Linked DNA regions of Homo sapiens: all the other regions are linked to region 4. The links are contacts of gene promoters, found by promoter capture Hi-C in blood cells and fetal thymus (Javierre and others, 2016). All regions are on one chromosome and are shown on one strand. Each heading gives the region's core, a stretch centred on a gene start or on the middle of the fragment in contact. The rest is flanking DNA. Distances are from core to core; before and after follow the strand shown. Region 1 overlaps CARMAL (coronary artery disease region linked MFGE8 regulatory lncRNA). Region 2 holds the start of CARMAL (coronary artery disease region linked MFGE8 regulatory lncRNA). Region 3 has its middle 21 kb from the start of CARMAL. Region 4 holds the start of RLBP1 (retinaldehyde binding protein 1).

Region 1 (3,214 bases), core at 483-2,982, 160 kb before region 4:
AATTTTGTAAATGGAGGTGGGAATCCCTCTACGAATTTTTAATTTGTAACTATTCGTATCTTCCTAGGGAAAATAATAGGAAAAAAACTCACAAAACTGTTAATATTGCTCACCTCAGGAGATGGCATTGGAGATATTTGCTTAGTTACAAGAATATGTATGGATTTTGCAACTTGAATGACACAGTAAGAAAGAACACCATGCCCCAGTGCAGGATTGTGGCAGGAATTTGAATCTTTAATTCCTTCAGGCACCGGGCACAGATCGAGACCATCCTGGCTAACACGGTGAAACCCCGTCTCTACTAAAAATACAAAAAAATTAGCCAGGCATGGTGGCAGGTGCCTGTGGTCCCAGCTACTCAGGAGGCTGAGGCAGGAGAATGACGTGAACCCGGGAGGTGGAATTTGCAGTGAGCCGAGTTCGCACCACTGCACTCCAGCCTGGGCGACAGAGCAAGACTCCATCTCAAAAAAATAAAATAAAAAAATAAAATTCCTTCAGGGTGCTTGCAAAAGATAGAACAGTGCAATGAAAAAAATCAGACCCAGCAGCACTACTTATTACAACATGACCTTGAGTGAGTCATTCACCTCACTGGGCCTCAGTTTTCTTGTCTGTAAAATGGGACAATAGCAATCTCTACCTGTCAGAGTTTGTGTGCAGGCAGTCAGGAAATATAGTCAGTAGGCATTAAATTTTTTTCACACTGTTAATCCAGTTTATAAGTGATACCTTTTTTTTTTTTTTTTTTTTTTGAGATGGAGTTTTGCGCTTGTTGCCCAAGCTGGAGTGCAATGGCGCCATCTCGGCTCACTGCAATCTCCGCCTCCCGGGTTCAAGCGATTCTCCTGCCTCAGCCTCCTGAGTAGCTGGGATTACAGGCACACGCCACCACGCCCGGCTAATTTTTTGTATTTTTAGTAGAAATGGGGTTTCACCGTGTTAGCAGGCTGGTCTTGAACTCCTGACCTCAGGTGATCCGCCTGCGTCAGCCTCCCAAAGTGCTGGGATTACAAGCATGAGCCACTGCGCTAGGCCAGCGTGATACCATTTTTAAAAGTGTTAAGTGAAAAGGGTAAAGGATCTATTGAAGCCCCTTTGTAAGCATGTGAGTTCTGCTTGAGAAGCCACCCCCGGGTTAGCTCTTCTAAGCTGCTCATAGCTAATTCCCTTCCTTCATCTCCACTTCCCTTTGGGGTTTGGCGCAGTGATGATGGGGTTTCTGAAGATGAGGTAGGGCAGGGGTTACACAGTGACCACTGGGAAGTTGGGGACTGGCCGCCTCTGGAACTCCAAGGATTGATTTTCATGGTTAGCAAACAGCTGAGAGTTCTTTGGGAAGCTTCAATGGTGAAAATGCTATTTTTGGTAAGAGGGTAAGAATACAGCCCCTTCTTGTTTAGCCATGGTCGTGGAATCACGGTGGGGGCGTGCCTGGTGCATGGGCTCCTGAGAGGCAGGCCCCGTTGGGCTCACCCCCATTCCTGCTGCCATTCCCTCCATGGCCTCAGGGTGGCGCTGCTCCCTCTCCAACTGGGGCCATCTATTGCCACCATGCGGCTTCCCAGTGAAACCCGCTATTAATAAGAAGGAATGAAAAAAAAAAAAGAAAGAAACAAACCTGCCAGAACTTTCCAATCACACTGTCCTAAAAGCTGAGGACTAAGAAAACGAAGATAGATTCAGGGGACACCGTGAGTCAAAACTTTAGTTTGCCAGGTCTGACTTCTTTCCTGCAGCTCTTCGCCCTCTACCCAGTCCATCAGGGACCCCAGGACTAGGACTCCCTAGCTCCCCACTTACAAATTAAGCCCACCAACATTTGTGGGGCGCCAGGCAAGAGAACGAATGGAAGCTCACATACTCTATGTCTGCATATTTTCAAGTTGTTCAGTCAAGCTGATAAACCCTTAAATGAAGTATGCTCCATCCTTCCGCCTTGAGGTAGATACCTTCATAACCACCTAAAAGACCAGGTTGACTTTTAGGATTTTCAGCCTCCTTGGAGATCCATTCCCCTGGCTCTCCACTTCTGGCCCCAGGTCCACCCACCCACGCTCATCCTTTCAGATCGTGAGGAGCCTCACATACGTGTGGATACTCCAGCTCACACATCCAAGCTTCCTCCACACCCACACCCCTTACAACCCTGAAAACAGCTACCCCTTGGCCACTCCTAGTACCTAGCATGTGAACACAGGTAGTGAGGTCCACTCTTGGGAAGAGAGACCTAGAGAAAATGAAGATGCCCCGCAGGCACAGAAGAGGGCTTGCTGTAATTTGGACAGAAACTCTGGGGTCCTGGTACACGGAGCCTAGTCTTGGGTGGGTGTATGGACTCCCTTTGTAGAAAGGAACATGGCCCGAGGAGGTGCACAGCAGGAGCTTCTCCTGCTCTGGGCCCAGGGGATGGGGACAAGGAGAGATGACATCCTTAACTCCCTCCATCCCTCAGGAGTGCCCCTGGACATCGAGACTCCTGGAAATCTGGGTTGTGACAGGCCAAGTCCCTTCTTAATTCCTCTTTCCTGCTGTGGAGCCCCCTCATGTCCAATGATTGGCAGCAGGAAAGACCTCACTCTTCAGACAAGACCATAGTATCTGCCCTTGAAGCCTTTCTCTTTCAGCCCTCAACAATATCTCAATAAAAACAGCAATCCAACGTTGGACAGAAGCCTGCAGTAATGGGTGGTGGCGCAGAAGCCATCCTTTCAAGGGCACAGAGTGCCATTTCTCTCTCAAGGGATGGATAATTCCTGCCTTAATGCAACCTTCATCTGCCTAGTCACCAGCTGATGGGAAAGCAGCTCCAGCGAAAGATAAGGGCTCTTTGCCTGAAATGAAAAATTCATGAAGGAAGACTAGGAATGGGGCACGCAGAGAGCTGCCAAGTTGCTGTGCTCTGAGGACCTGACAAGAAGCTCAAAAAGCCAAATGGAAATTTTCTCTCCTCTCCAGCATCTCCCATCATGCCCTCTTCCATGTTTGGGGCTCTCTTCTCTGCTGTACCTGGTCACAGCTCTGCAGTCTCACCAATGCCCATATGCCAGGGGATCCAGGAAGAGGGGTACATCTGCCCACCCAGGCGAGCCACTTGACACCCACTCACATCCTCACAAAATGTTCGCTGTGGCTAGACAAGCTGGCATGGTTCTGACCACCTACCTGCCTAGACCAGACCTGGAGGAAATCCAAACTGGCTATTTATTTG
Region 2 (3,054 bases), core at 424-2,923, 180 kb before region 4:
CACCAACTATTTCTGAAATGGACTGATTTTGCCCACAAAATCCATGCAGTCTTCCTTGGGGTCCCTGGTCTGCTACGTAACCTCAGGGTCCCGCACCCAGGCTTGCTCAGCTCATCAAAACACAGTCCTGCTTCACCCAGGCTGTCCTGGCCTGTTTCCCTTCCAGCTTCCCCGCAGAAGAGTGATTCTGCTCTGCAGGGTGACAGTGGCGGCCAGAGGAGGTGTGTCATCGGAAAGAAAAAAGTCTGCTTGATTGTCACAGGGACCGTTCACTTAACACGTATTTCTCGAGTGTGTGAGCATCTAGTCAATGCTGCTAGATGCCAGAGAGGCAAAGATGACTGCACTTGGTCCTAGCCCCTTGGAGCACCTTGTCTGGCACTGGCCCCACTGCTGCAGCCCTGGCTGAGGTCAGCAGGCTGCTCTCCCTCAAGTCAGTGGCCACCAGAGCCTTACCTGCCAGCCCTGTCTGCCACCATGGCTGCTGGGCCTCCCTCAAGCTTATTTTTGATGTCTATATTGTGGGTCAAATTATAAGAGGCTTTAAAAGGATGAGTGTAAATGGAGGTGTCTGTCCCCTAATGGGTGCCCAGAGGAATTTTTCCATGTCAGGTAAGGATACCTTTTTTTCTGAGGCAGGGTCTCACTCTGTCTCCCAGGCTGGAGTGCAAAGGGCGATCACAGCTCACTGCAGCCTCGACCTCCCAGGCTCAAGCAATCCTCCCACCTTTGCTTCCTGAGTAGCTGGGACTACAGGTGCTTGCCATCACAGCCAGCTAATTTTTTTTTTTTTTTTTTGTATGTTTTTGTAGAGATGGGATTTCACCATGTTGCCCAGGCTGGTCTTAAACTCAGCTCAAGCTATCTGGCCCCCTCTGCCTCCCAAAGTGCTGGGATTACAGGCGTGAGCCACTGCGCCTGCCCACCCGCCCCCCACCCCCCGACTTCTTTCTTTTTAAACATTTTTGTAAACTTCTCTCTTTTTAAACATGCACACTCACTCCACCCAAGCCTCTGAAGACAGAATTCTTGACCCTATTGCACTTACGATCTAATAGAAGAGACACAGATATAATATATTATGGTTTGATATGTTCACTGCTAGAAGTTTATGCCAAGTGCTGCTAGAACATAAATAATGGAGCAGTTCATCTTTCCTGGGGATAGGAGCCAGAGCCACAGTGAGCGCTGTTGACTGGGGTCTTAAAATTAAGCTGCATATGCCAAGCAGGGAAAGCGGGAAAGAGCATTGCCAGCAAAGGGAGCAGTATGATCAAAATTCCAAAGCAGTGCGTGCCAAAGGGCGTGTCATGAGCTGGAAAAGGTATGGTAGCACTGGTCAAGATTGCAATTTCAGTGTTCTTTTTTTTTTTTTAATTGAGACAGAGTCTCACTCTGTCACCCAGGCTGGAGTGCAGTGGCGCGATCTCAGCTCGCTGCAACTTCCACCTCCTGGGTTCAAGCAGTTTTCCTGCCTCAGCCTCCGGAGTAGCTGGGATTACAGGCACCCGCCACCACACCCAGCTGATTTTTGTATTTTTAGTAGAGACGGGGTTTCACCGTGTTGGCCAGGCTGGTCTCGAACTCCTGACCTCAAGTGATCCTCTCATCTTGGCCTCCAAAAGTGCTGGGATTACAGGCATGAGTCATGGCACCCGGCCAGTTTCAGGGTTTGTTTGAAATGATCACTTAATGAGTAACTGTCTCCCCTACTAGACTGTAAACTCTATGAGGGCCGGGGCTGGGTCTGTGTTCAACCACACTATGCCCCAGTGCTGAGCATGTCATGGCATTCAAATAAATATCCGTTGGATGGATGAATGGATGGAAGAAAGGAGGGATGAAATTTTTTAATTAAGAGATGTGTGCCAATTTTGGCAAATTTGTCAAAAATTTTGAAGAAAGTTTTTCTCAGTGAATATGAATATATTCCACTTGTGAATCTATTCACAGACTATGGGCTTGCTGGAACCTAAGAGTCATCGAGTAGTTTAGACTTCTTATCAATAGATTTTTATTTATATTCATAAGAGTATATTCTTGAATATATTTACTAATGCATTCATTAACAGTATATATTCGTATTCATTGAAAACATTAAAGAAAAAATTCTTTAGAATGGACAAATCAGAATATTTCACTTTTTTTTTTTTTTTTTTTTTGAGGCAGAGTCTGGCTCTGTTGCCGGGCTGGAGTGCAGTGGCACGATCTTGGCTCACTACAACCTCTGCCTCCTGGATTCAAGCGATTCTCCTGCCTCAGCCTCCCAAGAAGCTGGGACTACAGGTGCGTGCCACCACACCCAGATAATTTTTGTATTTTTAGGAGAGGCGGGGTTTCACCATGTTGGTCAGGGTGGTCTTGATCTCTTGACCTTGTGATCCGCCCGCCTTGGCCTCCCAAAGTGTTGGGATTACAGGCGTGAGACACAGTGCCCAGCCTAGAATATTTCATAAATGTAGCAAATTGGCTTTAGGGAACTTTTTCTGCTTCCAGCATTCAGCAGCTATTTGAAGGGTTTTGGAAGCAAAGGAATGGAGGGAGACAGGACGGCACCCTGAGGGAGACGCAGGGCTGAACGGAGCTGTTCGGGGATAGCTGTGGCTTGAGTGGGTCTGTTGGCTGAAAGGAGGGATTCGTTGAAGAAGGAGCAATGGACGAGGTGAGAGAGAGGATACTGGATGGAACCAGGTTTCAGAGGAGGCTGATGGGAGAATGTGAGGAGCACCAAAGCGAGCCTTAGGAAAAAGAAGTTCAGACAGACAGACACTTCGGTAAACCACAGCTCCCAGTATTCACCACTGTGTGTAGTCTCCTCCCACACTGACTCTGGGCTTGGTCAGCTGACAAGCTTTGGCCAATAGGGCTCTAGCAAGAAGATGCCAGCAGAGGCTTGAAAAGTGCCTACCCCTGGCCTGGGATGCTTCCTCCTGGGATGCTCCCACTTGGAACCCAACTATTGTGCTGCAGAAGTTTAACTTAACTGTGTAAGGAGGCCAAGAGGAGGCCCTGGCTGCCAGCCAGCATCAACTTCCAGTGACGTGAGTGTGCCAT
Region 3 (3,515 bases), core at 122-2,621, 200 kb before region 4:
CCTAGCAGAAGGATATCCACTGTGGCCCTGCGACCTTGTCAATCGTTTGATTCACAGCCTCTCAGTGACACTGGCACTCAATGAGATGGGCTCCTTTCATGACACGGTCACCACCATCATCACAATCTCCAGCATTTTTGGGTTCCTACTATGTGTACAGCAGTTTTCAGGAACATTTATTATTTATTTATTGAGACAAGAGTTTCCCTCTGTCACCCAGGCTGGAGTGCAGTGACATGATCTCAGCTCACTGCAACCTCAGCCTCCTGGGCTCAAACGATTCTTGTACCTCAGCCTCCCAAGTAGTTGGGATTACAGGCACTCACCACCACACTAGCTAATTTTTGTATTTTTAGTAGAGATGGGGTTTCGCCATGTTGGCCAGACTGGTCTTGAACTCCTGACCTGAAGTGATTTGCCCACCTCGGTCTCTCAAAGTGCTGGGATTACAGGTGTAAGCCTCCATGCCTGGCCTATTTTAAAGGAACTTATAAACATTAGAAAATAGTGTCTTTGTCATCCAAAAATGTATAGTCCAGTGGGAGAGAGGGTAATAACATGGGGACATGTGAGAAAATAAAGTTCTGTTTAATTCCCTCAGACCCAATTGAGCACTGGTGTAAGAGTTGTGTAAGATATTTTAAAGATGCCTTAAAAGAGGTTAGAATCTGAGGACAATGAGAATGAGGACAAGAAACGCGAGGCAGTATGAAAATATCAGGGTCAACAATGCAAAGCAGGGGAAGGTAGTGCCTCTGCTAATCAGGACTCATTCTGCTGCTAATGTCAGTTCATCAACTAAAATTCACTTAAACAACAATAACAAAAAGGAATTTATTGATTCACTGAGCCAAAGGATAGGAAGAATGTGCTGAGCTTCAGTGACAGTGGAATCCGGGACTGAATGCCAGCAAGAATTTCTCTCCCCTTTCCCATAACCCCCACCCTTCCCCTTCCTACTTCACCCACTTTCCCCAAACTCTGGGCTTCCCCCTCTCTGCAGCCTTTCTTCTCTTCCACACAGAAGGGCTTTCTATGCACACCAGGAAATATGGCCCCAGGCAGTTCAAGATTCATAACCTTGGTCCTCTACCAAAAAGGAAAAGAAACCTTCCCTCCCAGTTCCGTTTAAAAGAAGAACAAACCAAACAAACCAACAGAAAAGGACTTGAAGTACCCACTCTTCTGGGCAGAGTGAGATGGGGTACTTTCATTGGTCTCCCATCCAGAGCCAAACAGTAGGCGTGGGGGAGAAATGTCCCCTGAAAGAAGGGGATGATGGTTGTAGCAGACAAAACAAAGTCAGCCAGTACATGACATGGGATTGCTTTTCTGAAATGAAGGGCCACCGTTTTTGTTTTGTTTGGTTTGGGGGGGGTTGTTTGTTTTTGTTTGTTTGTTTGTTTGTTTTGATATGGAGTCTCGCTCTTGTTACCCAGGCTGGAGTGCAATGGCGTGATCTTGGCTCAATGCAACCTCCGCTTCCCGGGTTCAAGTGATTCTCCTGCCTTAGCTTCCTGGGTAGCTGGGATTACAGGCGCCCACCACCGTGCCCGGCTAATTTTTGTATTCTTAGTAGAGACGGGGTTTCACCATGTTGACCAGACTGGTATGGAACTCCTGACCTCAAGTGATCTGCCCACCTCGGCCTCCCAAAGTGCTAGGATTACAGGCGTGAGCCACTGTACCTGGCCCCGGGGCCACTGTTTTTAACCAATTGTCAAAGGGATCCCTAACCCAAAGATAGTCTTCCAAGGGACCTCAGTGACCAACCAGTTCAACTCCTCCATTTTACAGAAGAGAACACTGAGCTACAGAGAATTTAGGTGATTTGCCTAAGATGGCACAACTATGATGGGATTCTGCATTTGACTGGATGTAAGTGGGGGAAGAGGTATGTGAGAAGAAAGAGTCAAAACCTGGTCTGAGGCCAGGCGCAGTGGCTCACTCCTGTAATCCCAGCACTTTGGGAGGCTGAGGTGGGCGGATCTCCTGAGGTCGGGAGTTCGAGGCCAGACTAACCAACATGGAGAAACCCCATCTCTACTAAAAATACAAAATTAGCTGGGTGTGGTGGTGCATGCCTGTAATCCCAGCTACTCAGGAGGCTGAGGCAGGATAATCACTTGAACCCGGGAGTTGGAGGTTGCGATGAGCCAAGATTGTGCCATTGCACTCCAGCCTGGGCAATGAGAATGAAACTCCATCTCAAAAAACAAACAAACAAGCAAACCAAAAACCTGGTCTGTCAGAGTAAAGACAAATTATTTTTCATTTTTTATTTTATTGAGACAGGGTCTTGCTCTGTCACCCAGGCTGGAGTGCAGTGGCACAACCAAGGCTTACCACAGCCTTTACTTCTTGGGCTCAAGGAATCCTTCCACCTCATCTTCCTGAGTGGATGGGACTAGTAGCTGCCACCTCAGCTTCCTGAGTAGCTGCCACCACACCTGGCTAATTTTTGTATTTTTCATAAAGACTAGATTTTGCCATGTTGCTCAGGCTGGTCTCGAACTCCTGGGCTCAAGTGATCCTCCTGCCTTAGCCTCCCAATGTGCTGGGACTACAGGTATGAGCCACCATACTGGGCCAAGACAAATATTTTTTAAACGATAGAGTCCCATAGAAAGAGAATATAGGGGGGAAATAAAGCATAGAAAGAGGTGAGGCTGGTTTAAAAAGAAAAAAATAAAAAAGCTAAAGTCAACAAGGGCTGCTGTGGTAAATTCCAAGGCTCCACTAGTGTTTATAATCTTGGAAGAATTTTGGAGAATGGGTGAGGCCCCACCTGACTGGAAATGGGCAAATGTTGTTCTAATTTTCTAAAAGAGGAACAAGCAGTTTCCAAGAATTGCAGGCTGGTGAACTAGACAAGGCTCTAGTATGGGCTTACTAAGGACGGGCTGTGCCAAATGGGCGTTTTTACCATATTTGAGAAAGTTCTTAGCCTGGCAGGTTACTCAAGGGAATACTCCAGACTCCAAGACTTCTGGCTTGTTAAATCTGAAAAAAACCTTTAGGGATTAAAAAACCAGGGATGGCAAACTGGTGACTCCAGCTGAATTCAACCCTCAGATATTTAAATGAATAAAATTTCCCATCAAATCAGCCTTTCTGGCTTCATGATGGCACTGACCTTCCTTCCTGCCCAGCAGTGGGTATCACTGCCCTCAATAGATGAAGCAGGTACATGCAGCATACACACTCCCGTCCACCCTGGCCCTGCCATTCCCTAGTGCCTCTCCCTTGACCAGCTTCATTCATTACTTTATTTTATTTTATTTTGAGATGGAGTCTCACTCTGTCACCCAGGCTGGAGCGCAGTGGCACGATCTTGGCTCACTGCAACCTTCGCCTCTCGGGTTCAAGCAATTATCCTGCCTCAGCCTCCCGAGTAGCTGGGATTATAGGCGCCCGTCCCCATGCCCAGCTAATTTTGTTATTTTTAGTAGAGACAGGGTTTCACCATGTTGGCCAGGCTCGTCCCAAACTCCTGACCTCAAGTGATCCACCCT
Region 4 (3,119 bases), core at 8-2,507:
CCTCATCTGCAAACTGAGGATAATAACAGTACCTACCAAAAAGAACTGTCGTGAAAACCATATAATTTCTGCAATGCTCCTGGCACAGTGTCCTGTTCTAAAGCATAGTTCCCCTTCTCTTTCTTAGCTCCATATTGATTATTACCCTAACTTGCACAAAGAGACTTGGAGGACCCCCATAGAGTATCGGAGGGTCCCCCATTTCCTGCTCTTTCCACTCCACACCCCCAGCAAGCACAGGGAAGTTCTGGGGGCCATAATCCACCCACAGGAACCAAATCTAAGCCACCTTTCTGGCTGGTAGACATCCAGGTATGTGGGCACAGAGGTAGACAGGCTGAAATGCTGCTGTGCTATCAGTTGGGTTTTGCTGGAACAGGAATGGAAATGGAGAGGCTGACAGAACTGCCCTGGGGAGCCCAGGCAAGAGGGACAGTGGCTGGACACCCCCAGCCAGTTGTGCAGACCATCAGAACAAGATCCTAGATTTTAGGAATACAGGGTTCAAGTCCGTGCGGCAACTCTTTTCTAAATATGCCCAAGCCATTAACTTTGAGTTTTAAAAATACTGATTTACAAGCTGTACACAATGAAAAAATGCCTATCCCTCACACCATGCTGATGCTGTTCCCTGCCATCTCAGATTACCAATTAAATACAGAATGCCCAGTTAAATGTGAACTTTTTTTTTTTTTTTTTTTTTGAGATGGAGTTTTGTTCTTGTCGCCCAGGCTAGAGTGCAATGGTGCGATCTCAGCTCACTGCAACCTCTGCCTCCCAGGTTCAAGCAATTCTCCTGCCTTAGCCTCCTGAGTAGCTGGAACTACAGGTGCCCACCAGCACGCCTGGCTAATTTTTGGTATTTTTAGTGGAGATGGGGTTTCACCATGTTGGCCAGGCTGGTCTCGAACTCCTGACCTCAGGTGATCTGCCTGCCTCGGCCTCCCAAAGTGCTGGGATTACAGGCGTGAGCCTAAATGTGAACTTTTTTAATACTAAAAAAGTATTTGCTGTTCATCTGAAATTCACATTTAACTGGGTGTCCTGTATTTTTATTTGCTAAATCTGCCATCAAATTGGTCTGGCTCAACCTGGAGAATGGCCAGGTGGTTTCAGTTTTACAGGCATCTTGGGACGTGGTCTCCCTGCTCCCCTGAGTCCTCACCCCAGTCCTGGGCTCCCTGGCCCAGGCAAGCCCCAGGTATTGACTTACCTGCCAGGTCGGCAGCTCCTCCTTGGGGCTACCTGGTACCTGAATGTCCTGGAGCTCTAGAGGTTCCCTCCGCTGGAGGCGTGGTCCGGTCAGCAGGTTGGGATTAGTGTGTCATAAGGAACTTCTCACCGCCCACAGTTTCCGTTAAATCGGGCTCACAGGAGGCCCTCAGTGGGGCAAAGGAAGACCCAGAGAGAAAGGGGAGAGGGGAGAGGCCTGGGCCTGGCTGGAGGCGCATCAAAGCCCTCCTTTGTGTGCTCCTGCTCTGGAGTTCCTGCTCGGCCATGTGGAAGCCCGGCTGTGGGGCTGGGATCTGGGCCAGTCCCATTCCCTCTTTTCTCTGCCCTCTTTCTCCTCAAGATCCCGGGGTGGGGTTGCTGAGAGAGCACCCCCCCCCCCCCACCACCACCACCAGGGTAATAAGAGGTGAAGGGAAATCGTAAATATGACTACATCTACAGTGGCAGCTCTGGCAAATCCAGGCCTATTGCCCACCCCTCCCCCAGCCAGCAGGACCTGGCATGGTAGTTTTCACCTCTGCAGTGAGTGGGGTCAGTTGAGAAATGTGGCTGGTTAAGGCCAAGCAGGGAGAGGACAAGACAGGCTGAGCCTCCTTCTGGGCAGTGTGGTGCAGTGGCATGCCCTGGAACCAGACTGCCCGCCTGTAAAGCCTCGCTCGAGCATCTTCTGGCCGGGAAACATGACTTCAAAACTCATCGGCTCAGTTTCCTCCTCTAAGAAGTGTAGAAAACTAGAGGACCAGGCTCATGACTTTAGTGCGGATGAAATGGCAGTAAAGTGCTTAGTTCAGGGGTTTAGCTGCCTGACAATAAGTCCTCTGGAAAGGTCAGTTACTCCAAATACAGTATCAATAGGTGCCTAACTGGAGGGAACTTATTATTCAATCCTTTGTACAGGAAGAAACCCCTCTGCAGCCTCTCAACAGGTAACTTCCCAGCCTCTGTTTTGCTATTCCACTGGATGAGGAGGAGGTAATTCCTGTAGAACATTTTCTGTCTAGGATTCCAAGGGCGGGAAGCTCCCTGTTTCCATTACTGGGGAGCTCTCCTTGTTTAAAACCTCATTGTTGGTTTGAGCCCCAAGCAGCTTCCTATAATGACCACCCTTGGTCCTGGTTTTGCCTCCTAGAGGTGCCCAGGAGAAGGTCAAGCTCCCCTGCACAGGTCGCTCTCCAGAATCCAACCCCAGAAGTGCTTTTTTATTTTCCCTGGACATAGTTCTTGCTTTTCCACCCATTCCTACTTTGGCAGGTTTGGGATTTCTTCCCACCACCCCATCTCCTGCCGACCCCTTCCTCCAGAGCAGGCTGCAATGCCTGGTGCTTAGATCTTGGGGTGCATTTGAGTCACCTTGAGCTCTTTGTTTCCAAAAGCCCTTTCCCTGGGCTCCTACTCTGGCTGCTGTCTGGGTCTTGGGCTGTTTCTGTCCCAAGTCCTCTGTGGAGCTGGGGATCCTTCATTTATGTCATTCTTCTTCCTGGTGGTCTAGTCCTATGCTGTCTTATATAGTAGCCGCTAGCCCCATGTAGCTTTTCAGCATTCGAAATGGGGTAATGCTAGAGATTGGGTCTCACTATAAAAAAAATTTTTATAAATAGGGTAATACGACCCAAGAACTAAATTTTTGTGGGAGTCTGGCAGGGGACAGAGTCTCGCTCTGTCACCCAGGCGGGAGTGCAGTGGTGCGATCTCAGCTTATTGCAACCTCCGCCTCCCAGGTGCAAGTGATTCTCATGCCTCAGCCTCCCAAGTAGCTGGGATTACAGGCACGCACCACCATGCCCGGCTAATTTTAGTATTTTTAGTAGAGACAGGGTTTCACATGTTGGCCAGGCTAGTCTCGAACTCCTGAGCTCAAGTGATCACCCCGCCTTGGCCTCCCAAAG

The links. The method cuts DNA at HindIII sites, captures the fragments that hold promoters and counts their contacts. A CHiCAGO score of 5 or more calls a contact.
Region 1: a contact is called between a fragment that was not itself captured here and the fragment with the promoter of RLBP1 in region 4, in 2 of 17 cell types (monocytes and erythroblasts). The highest score is 5.4, in monocytes.
Region 2: a fragment that was not itself captured here is called in contact with the fragment with the promoter of RLBP1 in region 4 in 2 of 17 cell types (neutrophils and M1 macrophages); the score reaches 8.4 in neutrophils.
Region 3: a fragment that was not itself captured here is called in contact with the fragment with the promoter of RLBP1 in region 4 in 1 of 17 cell types (neutrophils); the score reaches 5.6 in neutrophils.

What each region holds. Positions count from the first base shown.
Region 1 is chr15:89,056,173-89,059,386 of GRCh38, forward strand. The region is part of intron 1 of CARMAL (coronary artery disease region linked MFGE8 regulatory lncRNA); the gene reads left to right. It also overlaps a transcript of ABHD2 not described here. Among named protein-coding and RNA genes, the nearest start is that of CARMAL, 17 kb to the left of the region's middle. RefSeq lists an enhancer at 3,163-3,214. The HindIII fragment of the contact is 778 bases long and covers 1,344-2,121 here.
Region 2 is chr15:89,038,136-89,041,189 of GRCh38, forward strand. CARMAL (coronary artery disease region linked MFGE8 regulatory lncRNA) reads left to right here and starts at 2,863. Exons shown (of 4, transcript NR_183882.1): 1 at 2,863-3,054. It also overlaps a transcript of ABHD2 not described here. The HindIII fragment of the contact is 2,351 bases long and covers 499-2,849 here.
Region 3 is chr15:89,018,562-89,022,076 of GRCh38, forward strand. No RefSeq gene overlaps it. Among named protein-coding and RNA genes, the nearest start is that of CARMAL, 21 kb to the right of the region's middle. The HindIII fragment of the contact is 4,802 bases long and covers 1-3,515 here.
Region 4 is chr15:89,220,322-89,223,440 of GRCh38, forward strand. It overlaps RLBP1 (retinaldehyde binding protein 1), which reads right to left and starts at 1,258. Exons shown (of 9, transcript NM_000326.5): 1 at 1,214-1,258. The HindIII fragment of the contact is 10,964 bases long and covers 1-3,119 here.